Linked DNA regions of Homo sapiens: regions 2, 3, 4, 5, 6 and 7 are each linked to region 1. The links are contacts of gene promoters, found by promoter capture Hi-C in blood cells and fetal thymus (Javierre and others, 2016). All regions are on one chromosome and are shown on one strand. The core of a region is centred on a gene start or on the middle of the fragment in contact, and the rest is flanking DNA. Distances in the headings are between cores, read along the strand shown.

The links. Contacts are between HindIII fragments. The CHiCAGO score rates a contact against its expected background, and 5 or more counts as called.
Region 2: a fragment that was not itself captured here is called in contact with the fragment with the promoter of ZDHHC9 in region 1 in 11 of 17 cell types (neutrophils, total B cells, activated CD4 T cells and 8 more); the score reaches 13.3 in neutrophils.
Region 3: a contact is called between a fragment that was not itself captured here and the fragment with the promoter of ZDHHC9 in region 1, in 4 of 17 cell types (activated CD4 T cells, non-activated CD4 T cells, neutrophils and 1 more). The highest score is 8.5, in activated CD4 T cells.
Region 4: a fragment that was not itself captured here is called in contact with the fragment with the promoter of ZDHHC9 in region 1 in 1 of 17 cell types (monocytes); the score reaches 5.5 in monocytes.
Region 5: a contact is called between a fragment that was not itself captured here and the fragment with the promoter of ZDHHC9 in region 1, in 5 of 17 cell types (M1 macrophages, naive B cells, non-activated CD4 T cells and 2 more). The highest score is 6.7, in M1 macrophages.
Region 6: a fragment that was not itself captured here is called in contact with the fragment with the promoter of ZDHHC9 in region 1 in 5 of 17 cell types (activated CD4 T cells, naive B cells, naive CD4 T cells and 2 more); the score reaches 7.2 in activated CD4 T cells.
Region 7: a contact is called between the fragment with the promoter of ZNF280C here and the fragment with the promoter of ZDHHC9 in region 1, in 4 of 17 cell types (activated CD4 T cells, non-activated CD4 T cells, naive CD4 T cells and 1 more). The highest score is 6.5, in activated CD4 T cells.

What each region holds. Positions count from the first base shown.
Region 1 is chrX:129,842,603-129,845,302 of GRCh38, reverse strand. ZDHHC9 (zDHHC palmitoyltransferase 9) reads left to right here and starts at 1,417. Exons shown (of 11, transcript NM_016032.4): 1 at 1,417-1,607; 2 at 1,977-2,044. The HindIII fragment of the contact is 4,624 bases long and covers 635-2,700 here.
Region 2 is chrX:130,195,580-130,198,400 of GRCh38, reverse strand. No RefSeq gene overlaps it. Among named protein-coding and RNA genes, the nearest start is that of RAB33A, 25 kb to the right of the region's middle. The HindIII fragment of the contact is 2,551 bases long and covers 222-2,772 here.
Region 3 is chrX:130,212,899-130,215,598 of GRCh38, reverse strand. ZNF280C (zinc finger protein 280C) reads left to right here. Exons shown (of 19, transcript NM_017666.5): 15 at 266-406. Among named protein-coding and RNA genes, the nearest start is that of RAB33A, 42 kb to the right of the region's middle. The HindIII fragment of the contact is 3,342 bases long and covers 1-2,700 here.
Region 4 is chrX:129,527,483-129,530,315 of GRCh38, reverse strand. No RefSeq gene overlaps it. Among named protein-coding and RNA genes, the nearest start is that of SMARCA1, 5.4 kb to the right of the region's middle. The HindIII fragment of the contact is 5,151 bases long and covers 1-2,833 here.
Region 5 is chrX:130,148,028-130,150,727 of GRCh38, reverse strand. It overlaps AIFM1 (apoptosis inducing factor mitochondria associated 1), which reads left to right. Exons shown (of 16, transcript NM_004208.4): 3 at 1,160-1,259. It also overlaps a transcript of RAB33A not described here. Among named protein-coding and RNA genes, the nearest start is that of AIFM1, 16 kb to the left of the region's middle. The HindIII fragment of the contact is 749 bases long and covers 1,076-1,824 here.
Region 6 is chrX:130,234,080-130,236,986 of GRCh38, reverse strand. ZNF280C (zinc finger protein 280C) reads left to right here. Exons shown (of 19, transcript NM_017666.5): 7 at 348-518; 8 at 667-773. Among named protein-coding and RNA genes, the nearest start is that of ZNF280C, 33 kb to the left of the region's middle. The HindIII fragment of the contact is 6,518 bases long and covers 1-2,907 here.
Region 7 is chrX:130,267,445-130,270,198 of GRCh38, reverse strand. ZNF280C (zinc finger protein 280C) reads left to right here and starts at 1,300. Exons shown (of 19, transcript NM_017666.5): 1 at 1,300-1,437. RefSeq lists a silencer at 1,520-1,599. The HindIII fragment of the contact is 6,334 bases long and covers 1-2,754 here.

The sequences.
Region 1 (2,700 bases), core at 168-2,667:
CAACCTTTTCTCTTATCTCCTCTTACACTTGGAAAGGAGATGCCACCTTCAACCTTTTCTCATATTTCCTCTTATATTTGGAAGGCAGGAGCCATACTGGTGAAAACAGACCTAGTGTCTTTTAAAGTCACCCTATAGTATAATACTGTGGTTCTCAATTGTTTCCCCCCTTCAATCTCAAACTTTTTTTTTTTTTTTTTTAAGACAGGGTCTCTCTCTGTCGCCCAGGCTGGAGTGCAGTGGCATGATCTTGGCTCACTGCAACCTTCACCTCCTGGGTTCAAGTGATCCTCCTGCCTCAGCCTCCCTGGTAGCTGGGACTACAGGCGAGTCCCACCGCTCCCCGCTAACTTTTGTCTTTCTAGTAGAGACGGGTTTTGCCATGTTGGCCAGGCTGGTCTTGAACTCCTGACCTCAGGTGATCCACCTGCCTCGGCCTCCCAAAGTGCTGGGATTACAGGCGTGAGCCACCGCGCCCAGCCCAATCTCAAACTTTTAATGCATGCAACTCACTCGGATCAGTAGCAGTGGCTCATGGTGGCAGTAATGCAGAGCTGGGTGGCAGAAGGAAAAAATCAATCTGGTTGGTGGGTGGGAATTCTGCCTTGGATTCTCCCCTTAATCATCATAAGCTTTCCAAACCGAATAAAAATTTACAACCTTTTTGGCAATCTTTACTTCATTACCTACCTGGAAGAATTTATGTCCTCAGTGGAGTTTCTTTAACTCCATTAATGTCAATTAGTTGTTTTAGGTGCTGCAAAATGATAATACGTTCTTGGGGACATTTATCCTTTACAACATGCTTTTTATGCTTGTTTGTGTGTTTTGATTTGAAAGACTTAGAGATGCAGGCTAGGGTGACTGGGACAGATATGGGGTCCCTGGCTACTGAATGAGACTTGGGAGGCAGATGACTTGTTTTTATGCCGATAAAGAGTAAAATCTCAAGTTGCGGTTGATTTTAAAATGCAAGCAGGGCTGGAGAGGCCCATGGCAGACCTAGTTTGGGGTGAGCACCCGGATCTGTGAGCTAGTGTTGCTTCAGCATCTCACTGTGTGTGTGTGTGCGCGCGCGTGTGTGTGTGTGCGCGCGCGCGCGCGTGTGTGTAGGCTGGTTCCACCCTTTGCTGTCCCATCGGCACTACCCTTAACCTCCGTCTCTGCGTAACTATATTAATAGAAGGCAACACTTCACATACTGGCGCTCAGACCCCAAAGAGAGGCTGGCAGTGGCTTGGCAGGTGGGCATGCAGCAGGGAGATGGGTGGAGGAGTGGGCGGAGGCATCGTCGAGTGGCGTTAGGCAAAACCAATGGCAGTTCGGGATAGGGGCGGCCGGGGCGGAGGCGCCGAGGCCGATCGGCCAATAGAGGGCGAGCAACTACTGGAGCGACCTGGTGACGTGAGGAGCGTTCCATTTGGCCAGTGGTGGGCGGTTGCCACAGCTGGTTTAGGGCCCCGACCACTGGGGCCCCTTGTCAGGAGGAGACAGCCTCCCGGCCCGGGGAGGACAAGTCGCTGCCACCTTTGGCTGCCGACGTGATTCCCTGGGACGGTCCGTTTCCTGCCGTCAGCTGCCGGCCGAGTTGGGTCTCCGTGGTTCAGGTAACGAGGGGTGGGGGCGGGGGTCTCCTGGGCTCGGCTGCAGGGTGGGCTGCCTCCCCTTCCGCGGCGCCTGGAGGCGGGGACGTCGGCACCGCCCTTCTCAACTCGGCAGCCGCCGAGCCCCTGGCCCGGGGTGACTACACGTGGCGGGGCGTGTGTGAGTGTGTACGAGCGTGTGGCTGCGTGTGCGTGTGGATGTGGCGCGCGTCCCAACCTGCCTGGGGCGGTGGTCCGCGGCGTGGCGGAGTCAGGGCGGGCCTCGAGAGGCCGCGCCCGCGGCTCGGCCCCGGACTCCGGCCTCCGGCCTCCGGCCCCCCGCTGGGGAGCCGGTCGCTGCTTCCCGACGGATTTTGATCTTTGTTCTTCCAGGCCGGCTCCCCCTTCCTGGTCTCCCTTCTCCCGCTGGGCCGGTTTATCGGGAGGAGATTGTCTTCCAGGTTAGTTTTACACAAAGGACGGGTTCTCTGCACCTCTGGGCCCCCCTCCCCTTCCCCGAACCTTCTACCTTCTCGTTTCCCTGCTCCGCTCCTAGGCTGTTTTTGGACCTTTGCCCTCTCCAGCCCGCGAGTTGGCTGTTTCTCCCTCCGTCCGTCGGGCTGCAGGCTTCCGCCTCAGTCCTGCCAGCGTGGGGCATGTGGTGTCGGTAAATAGAGGCCACAACACCACACCTGAGCGGAGGAGAAGGGTAGCAGAGGCTGAGAAACTCTGGGCCTGGGAATTCAGGATGCTGAGTAGAGATGGTACTTAGGACATGTCCCAGAAAGCGCCCTTGTGACTTTTCTTAGCTGCTGCCATTCCCCACCCCCCAACCAGCCATCAGCAGTCACCAACCATTCCAGAATCTCTCCTGCTTAAGTCAGCCTTTCACCTACAGGTCTCTGATGTGGTTTCATTAAGATTCTCACAAATGTTAGGCTAGACCAGCCAGATTGTTTCATTTCCCGGACTCAGGAAGTTGCAGAGGGTTTGATGAGGGGAAATCTGTTTTGTGTAAATACAATGCACGTATGTGCACAGAGCGTCCAGAACCTCCTGGCCCTGCCAGAGGGTGACTTGTTCCCTGCTGTGATTCATATTCGAGTGGCTAATTGAA
Region 2 (2,821 bases), core at 248-2,747, 350 kb before region 1:
AAGTAATCACGGTTTTTCCCATTACTTTCAATGGCAAAAACCGCAATTACTTTTGCACCAATCTAATAGTATTAAGATATTTCCCCTATATTATGCTACCTTATACTTGGCCACACCATAGTTCACCTCATGCTCATACTCATATACCTCTCTTCTCTGATTTTGAAACCCTTCTGCAGTTTGATTCTTGTCAGTTTGGTATTTGACCACCTGAAAAAGCTTAATATCATCAACAAACTTGGAGAGGCTGCTGTGCATGACTTCTACTGTTTCTAATCCTCCACACTGAAAAATATCTGTTTGTCCATACCACTGTGATATTCGGTGGCTGGGGGGGCTGCTGAAGAGAGTGTAGCCTCGAAATAACAGTCCTAGGTTTCAATCCTGGTTTTGTATCTGAACAGCTGTGTAGCCTTGAGTAAATTACCTGAACTTGTTCAGTCTCAGCTTCCTCATCAGTGAGAGGCATGTAATGGTGATATTCTTGCAAAGTTGTAAGGAATATATATACACAAACGCTCCTCAACTTACAATGGGGTTGCATTATGACATACCCATCCTAAATTGAAAATATCATAACTTGAAAATGCATTTAACACACCTAACTTACCTAACATCGTAGCTTAGCCTAGCCTACCTCGAATGTGCTCAGAACACTTACATTAGCCTACAGTTGGGCAAACTCTACTGGCAACACAGTACAATGTGTTTTTGGTTGTTTACCCCTTGTGATCTCATGGCTGCCTGAGAGCTGTGGCTCGCTGCCACTGCCCAGCATCACGAGAGAATCTCCTAATGCATATTGCTAGCCCAGAAAAAAAAATTGAAGTACAGTTTCTACTGAAGGTGTGTGTATCCCTTTCACAGCATTGTAGAGTCAAAAAATCATAAGTTGGCTGGACGTGGTGGCTCATGCCTATAATCCCAGCACTTTGGGAGGCAGAGGCAGGCAAATCATCTGAGCCCAGGAGTTCAAGACCAGCCTGACCAACATGGGGAAATCCCGTCTGTACTAAAAATACAAAAATTAGTCGGGTGTGGTGGTGCACGCCTGTAGTCCCAGCTACTCTGGAGGCTGAGGTGGGAGGATCACCTGAGCCCAGGAGGCGGAGGTTGCAGTAAGCCAAGATGGTGCCCCTGCACTCCAGCCTGGGCGAGGGAGAAAGACTCTGTCTCAACAACAACAACAAAAGTCATAAGTCTGGCCGGGCACGGTGGCTCATGCCTGTAATCTCAGCACTTTGGGAGGCCAAGGCGGGAGGATCACAAGGTCAGGAGTTCAAGACCAGCCTGGCCAACATGGTGAAACCCTGTCTCTACTAAAAAAAAAAAATACAAAAATTAGCTGGGCATGGTGGCGTGTGCCTGTAATCCCAGCTTCTTGTGAGGCTGAGGCTGGAGAATTGCTTGAACCTGGGAGGCGGAGGTTACAGTGAGCCGAGGTGGCGCCACTGCACTCCAGCCTGGGCAACAGAGCACGACTCCATCTCAAAAAAAAAAAAAAAAAAAAAACTCATAAGTCAAACCATTGTAACTCGAGGACCATCTGTATATTATATATGTATAACGTTTGGCTCTGGCGTGACAGAGTAGACAATGAATAAACAATGCTGATGTTACTGCTACTCCTGCTGCTGCTTCAGCTGTTATTGCTGTTAATTCTGTTACTGCTGTTACTATCACTACTGCTGAGACCCTGGAAACAACACATCAGTGGAATCTTCTCTGACAGTTTTAGTGGCAATCCATCAACATTGTGGTTATTCATAACTTTGGCTTATAATTCCCAGGTCTTGAAGTACATTCCTTCAAACTGTCGGGTGGATGACATCTTATCACAGTGCTTCAATTACATGTGGCATAATTCTCTAATGTCGGAAATGAGCGTAGCTCTGGCTTTTTCTGTCTAAGGACTACGAAATGACACTGCCTTATTGAAAACTACTACGGAATCCTGTCTGCTCTGGAGGGAAGCATTCCTTTTGTGCTAAAGAACCCCTTCTTTAAAAGAAACTTCTTTATTCATTATTACCAGTAATTCACTTCCAGAAATAAAGGAATCTTGAATCAATGAAATCTTGGGTACTTATTCAATACAATTAATTATATGAAAACGTAATTTTTTTTTCTTTTTTTTTTTTTTTTTTGAGACAGGGTGTTGCTCTGTCACCCAGGCTGGAGTGCAGTGGCACGATCTCGGCTCACTGCAACCTCTGCCTCCCGGGTTCATGCGAGTCTCCTGCCGCAACCTCCTGAGTAGCTGGGATTACAGGCACCCGCCATCACGCCCAGCTAATTTTTTTTGTATTTTTAGTGGAGACGGGGTTTCCCCATGTTGGTCAGGCTGGTCTCGAACTCCTGACCTCAGGTGATCCACCCGCCTCAGCTTCCCAAAGTGCTAGGATTACAGGCGTGAGCCACCGTTCCTGGCCAAAAACATGTAATTTTAAATAGCAGTAGTAAAGTGTTCTTTCCTTTTGTAGGACTTTTAAAATGATTGAGAAATACCTTACTTTCTCAGAGAGTAGGGATATTTTCACTCAATCTTGAAATCGTCCTTTTCTGTTTTCCCCTTATCTCCATTTTTCCCCCTCGTCTATCTTCTCCAGTATGTTCTCCTAACTAGATTATCATAACATAGAATCGAAGGAAAGTGTTAAGTTGTGTAAGTGTTTTTCTTGATAAAATAACAGAAGAGGGTATTTCTATCTAGCAAATCTTCAGTGCCTCAGAACATAAGAATCCTTGATAAATTAGTAGATACCCCAAGCTTGGAAAACTCAGCTACTTAACAAGTTGTCTTATTGATTGAGTCAAATCC
Region 3 (2,700 bases), core at 86-2,585, 370 kb before region 1:
TTTTACACTAAACTTATATTTTGTGCTTTTATCTTATGATAGATTAATTGGTTTATTTGATCCCTTTTATTCCAGGGAAATGTTAACTGGTGTTAAATTTTTTACACTTACTCTAGCTTGTTTCAAAGCAAATTTTGAAATTATGAGTCTACTTAAAGATACCAATTTAAACATTTTGGCTTCAGTTAATAAAATGTTAATAAGATTTTCCCCTGTTATTTTTGTTTTATAATCTCTTTTTATCTTTTTTTTCCGTCTCCATAAGGTGTCGTCGGGGAATTCACAAGTGCATTGAATGTCATTCCAAAATAAAAGATTTTGCAAGCCACTTTTCTATATACATCCACTGCAGTTTTTGCAAGTACAATACTAACTGTAACAAAGCCTTTGTAAATCATATGATGAGGTAAGTTAAACATGTAAACTGCCAATCAGAATTTCCATTTGGGTCATTTGTTTTTTGAAAACAGAGTTATCCTATTGAAAGCAAGTTTGTCTCATCAAGGAACTAAAAGGGTCTAGCAATAGGGAACTTCTAAGATGTTCCTTGTACTATTTTCCAGCATAGTAACTCATAAAATTACTGGGACAAAAACTCTGAGAACAATTAGACTAATGAAATTAAAATGAGTTTGTTAGGGAAATTTGTTTTTTCTATGGGACTTTTTTTTCTTTTATGTCTTTCAAAAAGTGGTTATTTTTTAACATAAAATGTTAAGTGTTTTCAATATATTTATCAAATAAATATGATCAGCTCTTGCATTCCACATCTGTGGATTCAACCAACTGTAGATAAAAGTGTTTTTAAAAAATTAGGTCTTTACTGAACATGTGCAAACCTTTTTCCCATTATTCTCTAAACAATACAGTATAAAACTATGTAATAGCAGTTACATTGTATTAGGTATCATAGGTTCACAAATCTAGAGATGATTTAAAGTATACAGCAGGATATGTATAGTTTATGTGCAAGTACTATGCCATTTTATATCAGAGACTTGAGTCTCTGCAGATTTGGATACCTGCAGGAGGTCCTAGAACCAATCCCCCATGGATACAGGGACCCCTGTATATGTAATTTCCTGAGTGTTATCCTCTTCACAGCGATCACTTTGAGAGGTTCCAGGCTTTTTAATGATGCTAAGAACATTATCCTGTCTCTGTCTCCCGCATCTGTCTGTCCATTTGTCTTTATGATCATCCATCTTTGCATTCATTCAATGAAACATAAGAGACTGTAGGAATATTCCAGTCATGATGCTACCGTTAGAATTCCTTTTCATGCATTGATTCAACTTAATTTGAGCACCTATGGTCTACTCTACACAAGGGAAAGACTTCAGAGCCCCCCTTACTTTCATTTGAACCTCATTCACAGGGGCTTGCTTTATTCCTTCAGATTGGATTTTATTTTAAATAACCAAAAAGTTTCCAGATATAAGTTCATTATTCTAATTAAGATAGTTCCATTTATTTTCAGTTAGAAATAAGATACAACTAGCCAGGCACAATGGCTCATGCCTGTGATCCCAACACTTTAAGAGGCCAAGGAGGGAGGATTGCTTGAGCCTAGGAGTTCAAGACCAGCCTGGGCAACATAGCAAGACCTCATTTCTATTTTTTAAAAAAGAAATAGGTATAACCAATAAAAGTTGTTTTCTTGCAGATTATAACAAGACCTCTATATTATTTTCTGCTCATAATCAGCTACCACTTTGAAGGATTCACCCACGTTTTTTGATGGCTTCAGCACCTGGCTTGCAGGGATTTTTTTCCCTTTGGTGGTCAGCCTGACCTTATGATACCTTTACTTCTTTAGTGCTAGCACTTTACATCCCTTTCTGCTTTGTTGTATCCCCTTTCTTAACACCATCCCATTTTACCTCATTGTAGACAATACTTATTTTGAATTCTCATTACCCCATGACTTTCAGAGTCTTGACCCCTTTTTCTAGTCCAGTAGTATCAATTCAATTTTGTAGCCAACCATGCCCTCAAGGTCTTCTGTTTTGAATGCTGCTTTGTTTCTGTCCTAAAATCCTTTATATCTTCAGGCATGCTTAGTCTTGCTATCTTTGCATCTTTTATCCTTTTTGATGTATCCCTATGCTCAGTTCTAGACTACCACACCATGCTTGATTCAATCAGCTCTGAATTCATGATCTTTAATTTGGTCCTGCCCTTTTAAAAATACCGCTTTGTTTTTGTTTCGTTTTGTTTTGTTTTGAGATGGAGTCTTGCTCTGTCACCCAGGCTGGAGTGCAGTGGCATGATCTCGGCTCACTGCAAGCTCCGCCTCCCGGGTTCATGCCATTCTGCTGCCTCAGCCTCCCCAGCAGCTGGGACTACAGGCACACGCCACCACGCCCGGCTAATTTTTATTTTTATTTTTATTTTTTTTGTATCTGTAGTAGAGACGGGGTTTCACCATGTTAGCCAGGATGGTCTCGATCTCCTGACCTCATGATCCGCCCGCCTCGGCCTCCCAAAGTTCTGGGATTACAGGCGTGAGCCACCACGCCCGGCCAAAAATACCACTTTGTTTTTATCTACAACATCTGTCAGATTTTATTCTAGTCCCTCAGTTGTTAACCTTGCCTAATAATTACTCAGAGGTCATACTTTTCGTTTTTCTCAAGATTAACTTTTTCCTGTCTCAAGGTTTTTTTTCCTTCAGACATTAATCTCAAAAAACAGACA
Region 4 (2,833 bases), core at 296-2,795, 320 kb after region 1:
CCTATAGTCTATGGCTGCTTTCATGTTACAACAGCAGAGTTTAGCGGTTGTGACAGACTTTATAATCTGTAAAGCCTCAAATACTTACTACCTGGCCCTTTACAGAAAAAGTTTGCTGGTCCTCGTTCTAGGTCACTAGTTCTCCAAGTGTGGTCCCCGGACCAACAGCATCAGCATCAGTGGAGAAATTGTTAGACAAATTCTTGGCCCCACTCCAAACTTACCAATTCAGAAACTCTGGGAGTGGGGCCAACTATCTGTGTTTTAACAAGCCCTCCAGATGATGCTGATGTGCTCAAGTTTGAAAACCACTGATCTAGGCCCAGGACAAGGACCCAATCCTTTTTTTTTTTTTTTTTTGAGAGAGAGAGAGAGTGTGTGGTGTGTGTGTGTGTATGTAGACATTATTGTCTTTTGTCTTTTGGTATCTTGTTCCACACGCAGTGGGTAAGCTGGGGGAGAGCCCTGAAAAATGTTATGTAAGTGTATTATTATGCATGTGAAATCTGGCAAGAATGGACACTCAGGACAAGATTGAAGGAAGAGAAATGGGAGAAACCAGAAGGCAACATAGAAGCTGAAGAATATGTGTGGAGTGGGGAGGGCATGATGTAGCTAGGGAGCCAGTCCCTGAACTGCCTTCCCTCCTACCTCTTACTATTATTATGTATTTTTTGAGATGGAGTTTCACTCTTGTTGCCCAGGCTGGAGTGTAATGGCATGATTTCAGCTCACTGCAACCTCTGCCTCCAAGGTTCAAGTGATTCTCCTGCTTCAGCCTCCCAAGTAGCTGGGATTATGGGCATGCGCCACCACACCCAGCTAATTTTGTATTTTTATTAGAGACGGGATTTCTCCACGTTGGTCAGGCTGCCCTCAAACTCCCGACCTCAGGTGATTCTCCCATCTCGGCCTCCCAAAGTGCTGGGATTATAGGCATGAGCCACCGTGCCTGGCCCCTCCGGCCTCTTTTTAAACAAAGACAAATCGAGTATGACTCCTGTCCTCAAAAAAGTCACAGTCTAAGTAGAGAAGTAGCCTAACCCTCTTCTCCCTCATTACTGCCTTTCTTCAGAACTTACCTTTGGGGAAGTGTAACTGCACCAAATTGCTGACCCTGATAAATGATAATGAACAGAGAAAATGAACTTGGCAAACAGCACTTCCGCCTTATTCCTATTTTAGTTTAGCACTGACTTTCAGACTTACTTTATCATATTCTGGCTTTTTCCTTGGCTTAGCCAAAACTCAAAGCAGCACCCTGCTTTTTTCTTTTTGTTAACTACCATCCACTGAGTATCTGTTATATGCCGGGATCATGTTAAATGTTTTATACACATATTTTACATTAAATCCTCATGAGATCACGTTGAATTAGGTATTATTATACCCATTTTACAGATGCAAATCAGAGGAGAGAGAGGTTAAACAATTTAGTAGAATCTGAACTCCAAGTCTTTCTGACTCTACAGCCAAAGCTGGTAATAATTGTACTATTTTGCCTCTAATAATACCGCCATGGATAATATTGTGCCTTTACATACATAGTAAATACATGGAAATCAATGGTAACATGTGCATCCATGAGAATTTCTACTTGCATGTAATAGAAACTAACTCTGACTTATTTAAGTGGAAATAAAAAGTATTAAATAGTGAAAAAATATTGGGCCTTTAGCAAACCCAATTCAGATTATTTAGCATGTGTTTCGTGTTTTAGGGCATGTATGGGTGGGTAGAATGTCAGGGTTGGGAGCATTTAAGAAAATCTTGCTGGGCGCAGTGGCTCACGCCTGTAATCCCAGGACTTTGGGAGGCCAAGGCGGGCGGATCAAGAGGTCAGGAGTTTCAGACCAGCCTGACCGACATGGTGAAACCCCATATCTACTAAAAATACAAAAATTAGCCAGGCGTGGTGGCACACGCCTGTAGTCCCAGCTACTCGGGAGGCTGAGACAGAAGAATCGCTTGAATCCAGGAGGTGGTGGTTGCAGTGAGCTGGGATTGTGCCACTGCACTCCAGCCTGGGCGACAGAACGAGACTCTGTCTCAAAAAAAAAAAAAAAAAAAAGAAAGAAAGAAAATCTCATTTTTTTTCCTGAGCTAGTTTTGCAAAATTGCTTAAAAGTAGAAAAATCATTTTATATACCGCCTAAAACAATGTCAAAAATCATTCCTCAATCAAGTAACATTATTGTGAACCGTATAATACTCACATTGCTTCTGCTACATTATACATTACTACTGCATTGTCTCTTCTGTGTGAAATTGTTCTGTTCATTTTTTTTTTCGGGACGAAGTCTTGCTCTGTCACCCAGGCTAGAGTGCAGTGGTGTGACCTTGGCTCACTGCAACTTCCGCCTCCCGGGTTCAAGCGATTCTCCTGCCTCAGCCTCCCAAGTAGCTGGGATTACAGGTGCCTGCCACCACACCCAGTTAATTTTTTTTATTTTTAGAAGAGACGGGGTTTCACCCTCTTGGCCAGGCTGGTCTCGAACTCCTGACTTCATGATCTACCCACCTCGGCCTCTCAATGTGCTGGTATTACAGGCGTGAGCCACTGCACCTGGCCTGTTTTTTTTTGTTTTTTTGTTTTTGTTTTTGTTTTTGACTCACCCTATCTACAAGGTCATACTCCTTCTGTTAAGGATTAATTTCAACTTGTTCAGTTTTGAGTAATACGTTTTGATTCATCTATAAAATGGTATTTATCTATTACATAAAGAAACACCTTCATTGAGGAAAACTAGAATAGAAAAGCAAAATAAGAAAAAAATATTACACACAATCCCACCACCTTGCTGTATGTAACTACTGGTTTAACATTTGGAGT
Region 5 (2,700 bases), core at 201-2,700, 310 kb before region 1:
GCTGGGATTACAGGTGTGAGTCACCATGCCCGGCCAAAAGCATTGTAATGTTAAGTCATTCTTGCCTACCTTTTCTTTAAAAAGTCTCCAATAGGCCGGGCGCGGTGGCTCACGCCTGTAATCCCAGCACTTTGGGAGGCCGAGGCGGGCAGATCACGAGGTCAGGAGATCGAGACCATCCCGGCTAAAACGGTGAAACCCCGTCTCTACTAAAAATACAAAAAATTAGCCGGGCATAGTGGCGGGCGCCTGTAGTCCCAGCTACTTGGGAGGCTGAGGCAGGAGAATGGCGTGAACCCGGGAGGCAGAGCTTGCAGTGAGCCGAGATCCCGCCACTGCACTCCAGCCTGGGCAACAGAGCGAGACTCCGTCTCAAAAAAAAAAAAAAAAAAAAAAAAAAAGTCTCCAATAAACTCTGGTACTGTATGTTAAAAAAGAACAACACACAACTGGTCATAATGGTAAAATTACCCTTTTCCAATTTGAAAGGATAGAGAAGATAGAATATTTGAAATGTAACAGGTGTGTTTAAGCAAGGTGTTTGACCCCCTAGTAAATATCTGTGTGTAGTTTTTCTGAATGAGATTCCTTCTACCTCGTGAGTTTAAGAAAAGGATAGACCATTGAGGGAATGATGGGTAACTCTCTAAAAATAGAATACAGGCAGCCATGTTTCTGACCACTGTGTGAGTACTTAGCAAAAGCCGGAATGTTGACCAGGAAAACTTATGTCCCAGCTTCCTACCCGGGACCCTATAGATTGATTTCACAGCTAGTGTCCAGCGTAGTCCAAACCCCGTTTCTGTGCTTCATATATAGATTAGCCCTTTCTAGCACTTTATTCTTCTAGTATAAAATGATTTTTTCTTTTTTCTTAAACTGTACCTTCAGAATAAAATATGGGGAGAATTCTTTATAGAGAGCCTAAAAATCTGAAACTGGAATATTTTCATCTGCTTACACATATTTTTTCCATACCAAGCATGTGCACACCCAGTATTTTTTATTTCTTAAGAAAACAACTTTGTCTTAGTGGTTTTGACATAGAGGAACTAACATCAGATAGACAAAAGCTTCTCATTTAATTGAAAGATAATATTACTTACAGTATGAGCTAGCTGTATGGTGAAATAAACTTTCTCCATGTTTGGATCCGCAGGCCTACAAGACTATGAAAGAGGATGAAAAAAGATACAATGAAAGAATTTCAGGGTTAGGGCTGACACCAGAACAGAAACAGAAAAAGGCCGCGTTATCTGGTGAGTATTCCCTTAAGTCTTGCTATGATTTGAGACTCACAAAGGGAAAGTTATAAACAGTTTGGGTGCTGTGATTTATGGATGTCTTGTAGAAGCAATGGTGGTATGAGATTGCAAGCATCTAGAAAGTATGGTATTACCCTAGAACTGGGAGTGATTTAAAGCATTTGGCTGAAATTTGGGTTTGAGAATAAAGCTAGTGATAATTATGATTGGTTGTTTATCTGTATATTAATATTAGTCTCTTGGCTGGGCACGGTGGCTCACGCCTGTCATCCCAGCACTTTGTGAGGCCGAGATGTGCGGGTCAGCTGAGGTCAGGAGCTCAAGACCAGCCTGGCCAACATGGTAAAACCCCATCTATACTAAAAATACAAAAATTAGCCAGGCGTGGTGGTGCACGCCTGTAATCCCTGGTGCTCGGGAGGCTGAGGCATGAGAATCTCTTGAACTGAAGTGGCGGAGGTTGCAGTGAGCCAAGATCACGCTGCTGCACTCCAGCTTGGGTGACAGAGCAAGACTCTGTCTAAAAAAAAAAAAAAAAAAGTCTCTTAAAAGGCAAGCTTAGCAAGGAAAACTATTGGAAAAGATGGAAAAGAGATGAAAACCTTTTTTTTTTTTTTTTTTTTTTTTTTGAGATGGAGTTTCACTCTTTTTGCCCAGGCTGGAGTGCAGTGGCCCGATCTCATCTCACTGCAACCTCCGCCTCCTGGGTTCAAGCAATTCTCCCGCCTCAGCCTCTGGAGTAGCTAGGATTACAGGTGTGTGCCACCATGCCTGGCTAATTTTGTATGTTTAGTAGAGACAGGGTTTCACCATGTTGGCCAGGCTGGTCTCAAACCCCTGACCTCAGGTGATCCGCCTGCTTCGGCCTCCCAAAGTGCTGGGATTACAGGTGGGAGCCACCACGCCCAGCCGAAAGCTGTTTTTTAAATGAGGAAATTCTTCTAGTCTGTTTTGTTCCCCTTTTGAGTCTTTGCAGTTTCGAGTTGCTAAAGGTATATTTGCTTTCCTAAAGCACATACCCTAGCCATCACTTCCATTTCACATGATTCACTTCAATTTTCAGAGAGGACTGTTTTAATCCTTTAATAAGCCCCACAACTCTGGGTGGGCAATTTGTTCTGCTTTTTTCAAAAGCACCCCCTTATTCTTGAACATTGTATGATAATCCCCAATTGACCTCCTGGATTTTCTCCCTTTGTTGCTAACGGAAGGTGAAACTGAGCCTGATATTTTCCTGGTGATCACTAGGAAATTGATGGGAAGGGCAAAAGCCTACTGATGTATACTTTCTAAATGTTTTAGAAGTAACTAAATATTTAAGCTATGTCCTAGTACCAGTTCAGACCTGATGAATGAATGACATTGGTGAAATCATTCTCCTATTTTTCACTTATGAAATGAAAGGGATACTTGCTTTTCCTCTCCCATCAGGATG
Region 6 (2,907 bases), core at 404-2,903, 390 kb before region 1:
TTATTTAGCTTGGAATTTTTTGGTCTAACTTTTTTCATGATACCTGTTTGTTTTCTTTATTTGAAAGCATTTTTAGAATTTGGGTATATAAAGTTTATTTTGTGAAGTAAAGATATGTAGTTCATAGTAGTAGCTGTTTGTGCAATTTCTGCTTGCTCATATAAATTTTAATCATTCTTTATTGTCATTTGTATGATATGCTTATTAAATTATATTACCTTTAACTTAGTTCCAAACTGTTTTTGCTCAGTTTTAAATGTAAAGCCATTTTGGTAGCAGTTTTACATAAGCAATATTCCATACTGAAATATTTACAAATATCTTTCTCACTATTTAAATCTTTGTAGGTATGAAAAATACTTCATATGTGTTGAAACATCCTTCTACTTCTAAAGTAAACAGTGTTACTCCAAAAAAACCAAAGACCAGTGAAGATGTTCCTCAGATAAATCCCTCCACTTCATTGCCTTTAATTGGCTCTCCTCCAGTGACATCCTCCCAAGTTATGCTGTCAAAAGGTAAACATGAAATCTGACATGTAAAAAAAAATAGTATTATTTTTATATACGTTTTAGAAATTGTGATGAATTTTAAAACCATTATTAGTGGTCATTTAAGGTTTTAAAAAGATGGATTTGAGTCTTAAAAGTTCTTAATTTATTGTAGGTACAAATACCTCATCTCCATATGATGCTGGAGCAGATTACCTAAGAGCTTGTCCAAAGTGCAATGTTCAGTTCAATCTTTTGGATCCTTTGAAATACCACATGAAGGTAAAACTTTTTTCAAAGTTCAATTGTTAAAAATGTTTTATAGATCCTTGAAAATATTGAAAATTGATATACAGTAAATGCTGGTTTATCCAGATATTTAGAGAAGAAACCTCGTATTGGCATTTCCATGTAACTTAAGTTAAAATTGATATTCACAATGATTATATAAGATTTTAAAATCCTTTCCAATGATGAAATTTTTAAAATAAAGTTATGGATAGAACTGGAAGCCATTATGTTAAGTGAAATAAGCCAAGCATAGAAAGACAAATGGACGTTGTCACTCATATGTGAGAGCTAAAAAAGTTGATCTCATAGAGGTAGAGAGTAGAACAATAGTTGCCAGAGGCTGGGAAGGGTATGTGTGGAGGGGTAGGAGAAGAGGAAGAGAGGTTGGTTATTATGCACAAATATACAGTTAGATAGAAGGAATAAGTTGTAATGTTTGGTGCAAAGTAGAGTGAAAAATAGCTAGGAGAGAGCACTTAGAATATTGCCAACGCAGAGACATGGTAAATACTCGAGGTAATGGATACCTCAGACATCCTGATTTGATCATTACATATTCTGTGCACTTAAAATATCACATGTACCCCATAATAATTTATAAACATTATGTATCAATTTAAATTTTTTAATTAAGTTCATATGCAGTACAGTGTATGCATATTGTATTTTATTTTTATTTATTTATTTATTTGAGACAGAGTCTTGCTCTGTCACCCAGGCCGGAGTACAGTGGCACAATCTTGGCTCCCTGCAACATTTGCCTCTCCAGTTCAGGCGATTCTCCTGCCTCAGCCTCCCGCGTAGCTGGGATTACACGTAGCACCACCATGCCTGGCTAATTTTTGTATTTTTAGTAGAGACGGGGTTTTGCCATGTTGGCCAGACTGGTCTCGAACTCCTGGCATCAAGTGGATCCACTGGCCTCAGCCTCACAAAGTGCCGGGATTACAGGTGTGAGCCACTGCGCCTGGCCTGCATTTTAATTTTAAATGAAAATAATGTACAAATTGCAATATTTTATTGACTAAATTATGACATTCTTCAAACTTCCTGTAAAGCAGGTGTTTTATTAGGTGCTTAATCTTTTGTGTAAAGTGAAAGCTCCTTTTGTTTACCTTATTTTTTGCCCATGGTGACATATCCATGTCGCATTACCCTGTGAAAACCTTATTTTTGCCCGTGGTGACTTAATGCATGTCACATTACCCTATGAAAACCTTAGTCTTACATTTTAATTTTCAACACTCAGAAATAAACTTCTAATGATGGAGCATTTCATATGAAATGATAGTTTTAACTCAATCCATAATATAGTTTATATAGTTATAAATGAATTCTAGCTTTCTATTAATATAGGAAGCTCTTTGAAATTAGGTTTTAGGTAATTTTCACAGTACTAATAGAGTATGGGATTAAGGTAACACGCCACTTAAAATATTTTAGTAGATATTACAGTATTCTGTTATGTGTGTATAAAGATAGTCTGTATTCTCTTTGCATGCCCAGTGTAAATGACAGGAAGGGGCAAAGGAGGCAAGAAAAAAGTCAGTGTTGATTATATGTGGGAAATAAGTGATGAGACGAGTGCAAAGCAAAGAAGCAACTTAGGAAAAGGAATTGTTCACTATTTCAAAGATTGGCAAATTTTTATTAAAATTCAGCATTTTACAAAAAAGGAATTCTAAAATTGCAAATACAAACGTCTTTACTCTGACGCAAAACTGTATTAGAGTCTTTGGCTGTTTTCACCTCCCTGAGTGTGTTTGGGAAAGGGGAATCCAAGTCTCACATTACCACTGTTTCCCTTGATATCTTCCAATTCTGTTTCATGGTGTTGCTCTTTAGGACATAGATGTATCCATCTCTTACGATTCATTGTGGGTGCACCCTTTAGCATTTTTATAGTGTCCTTTTTGTCTGTTCAGTGCTTTTTGTTTGATATCAGGCTCACAACCCTTGCTTTCTTATTGTTTCCACCTGCCTGTTATATTCTTTGCTTATCCTTTTACTTTCAACCCTCCCAAATCACTTTGTTTTTGTTCTTTCTTGCTTTCACCAGAGTTTTTTCTTTTGTGATCCTATATGAAAACTTCTTTTCTTTTAGAAGTTGAGTTAAACCCATGTA
Region 7 (2,754 bases), core at 51-2,550, 430 kb before region 1:
GAGACCAGCCTGACCAACATGGAGAAACCCCGTCTCTACTAAAAATACAAAATTAGTCGGGTGTGGTGGCGCATGCCTGTAATCCCAGCTACTCGGGAGGCTGAGGCAGGAGAGTCACTTGAACCCGGGAAGCGGAGGTTGCGGTGAGCCAAGATCACGCCATTGGACTCCTGCCTGGGCAACAAGAGCGAAACTCCGTCTCAAAAAAGAAAAAGAGAGATGAACCAGTACTGCTATAAACCTTGTGGAGAAATTTGGGAGAAGAAACTTTTACAGTTCAAAGCACAATGTCTAGAAAATGTTTCTGTAAGCAGTATTTTGGCAAGTGTTTTTCTTGTAAATGTATTTACAAGTTCCAGTGATTCTCCCGCCTCAGCCTCCCAAGTAGCTGGGATTACAGGCATGTGCCACCACACCCTGCTAATTTTGTATTTTTAGTAAAGATGGGGTTTCACTATGTTGGTCAGGCTGACTGGGGTTCAGAGAAGGAGGAGGAGAAAGGCGAGGAGGAAAGGGAAGTGGTCTCAAACTCCTCACCCCAGGTGATCCACCCACCTCAGCCTCCCAAAGTGCTGGAATTAGAAGTGTGAGCCACCGCGGCCAGCCCACGGACGGACGGCTGGTACTTACATGTGCACAAGTGCAGCTACTTTACTTACCGTCGAAGGCAGCGGAGGAAGTGTAATTGACTAGCGTGGATGCAGCTTTTCTAAGCAAACGCTCGATTTAACCTGGAGTTGTCATCCCACAAAATACATTGTACCTGACTACAGAGAAACATGAATTCTGGGTCTTCCTTGTGTGTAAGAGTAAATGTATTTTTCCTTAGCATTTTTTGTACCTACTATAGGCATCCATATGGCAATTAGAAGTAACAGAGAGACAAGCAAAACCATATGTTTAAAACAAAAGGTAAAAATAACTAGTATTTTGAGACGTGTTTCAAGTACAGTATTTCCAGAAAACAATATATTTATATTTTTAACTCGTGTCTTTAGCCCTCACACACAAGGAAGACCCAGAATTCATGTTTCTCTGTAGTCAGGTACAATGTATTTTTTGGGATGACAACTCCAGGTTAAATCGAGCGTTTGCTTAGAAAAGCTGCATCCACGCTAGTCAATTACACTTCCTCCGCTGCCTTCGACGGTAAGTAAAGTAGCTGCACATGTGCACATGTAAGTACCAGCCGTCCGTCCGTGGGCGGTTAAAAGGCCCCGGATGTTCAGGGGGTGGAGTCGGCGTCTACCCATGAGGCAGCGCGTGCAGTTATATACTTCTGCCCCCGGCTGAGACGCCGGTTCCGCGCTGGAAGTCTCCGGGGGAGTCGCTGTTGCTGAGGCTGTCGCCTGAGGTTTTTCGCGCTCCTCCCTTTCCTCCTCCTCTTTCTCCTCCTCCTTATCCGAACCCCAGTCAGACCGATCTGCTCTGCTCTCGGTAAGCGGCCCCCGCCCCCGCCTGTGCCGCGCGGAAGGAGGCAGCAGCTCTCCCGCGCGGCCGAGGCAGCCTTCCCCAGAGGGCGGTTCTGAGGGCGGCTGGCTGAGGGTCTCTATGCCGGTGCGGATCGACGGGGGTGCGGGGGAGGGGACAGGCTTGGCGGCGTGGTAGCTGGTGGGCCACCATCTTGCGCCGGGCCCTGAAGGGGGAGGGTTTTCTGGAGGTAGAGCCTGGCGGCCCGCGGCGGGCAGTGGTTTCGCGGGCCGCGGCAGCTGCGGCAGCCTTCTCACCTCCTGAGTCCTGTCGGTCTGTTTCCAACCCGGTTTGGGCTTTTCATTCTGGAGGCAACTCCCTTTCGTCTTTTGTACGGTTGATACTGATGTTTGACGGAGACCCGCCCACCCTCAAGTCTCTTCAATCAAACGAAAAGAGACTTGAGGGGATTCCGAACTTTCAGGCATCAGAGACCCTGTGACCCCTTCTTTCTGCGCAGGTTCCCCCCACACAGGACCGGTCATTCCATGCCCACAACCTTGTTCTGGCCAAAGGGACTTCCCTTCTCTGTCACAGAAATCGTGCTCTATTCCGTTATTGTCTAGAGGATAAGAGCCCTGAGGAGAAACGTGGAGTTAAATACACTATATTCTAACTAGGAGGTTTGCAGGTTTTACTTAAAGAGATGGAAAAAATTATGCTGAGGTATACTCCTGCTCTAGAGATGGAGGGAGTTCCTTTCAACTTCTCTCAGGTTTTAATGCTTTTTTAAGGAGAAATTCGAGAGGAAATTGTCAAGTGAACCAGCTTCTGCAAGCACGGGAGACCTTCATCCAGGGGATTCTCTTTGTTTGGAAAGATTTGTTAGTTTTGTGGAGTTTTTTAAATCTGCGACCTTAAATTTTTTTTACTATTGTTTTCAGGTTTGGACTATGAGTTGTAATGTCTTTTAGTGCCCCTAAACATAAAATAGAAACCTAGAAGTAGAGTTTTAAACTGCAAAAGTCTCCTCTTAGTATTTGTGAGGTGTCCTGGTTTGGGGGTTACTGTGCAAACTTAATCTCCTTACGCAGAAACTTCACTGAGCCTACAAAGGCACTGATTTGCTTGTAAAATTAGGGCTGTGTACCTTTGATGTTTCTACAGCAGTACAGATTCCATTATAATCGTATCTTGCATTTGTATATTTCATTGGTAGCACCCCTTTTGAGATGGGCTGTAGGGTGTCGTTAGAACTGTTTGAAGATGAGGAAACAGCCTCAAGGACAGAACTTTACCGAGGTCATGTGCCTAGGAAGTGATGGAACCAATTCTTAAACCTAG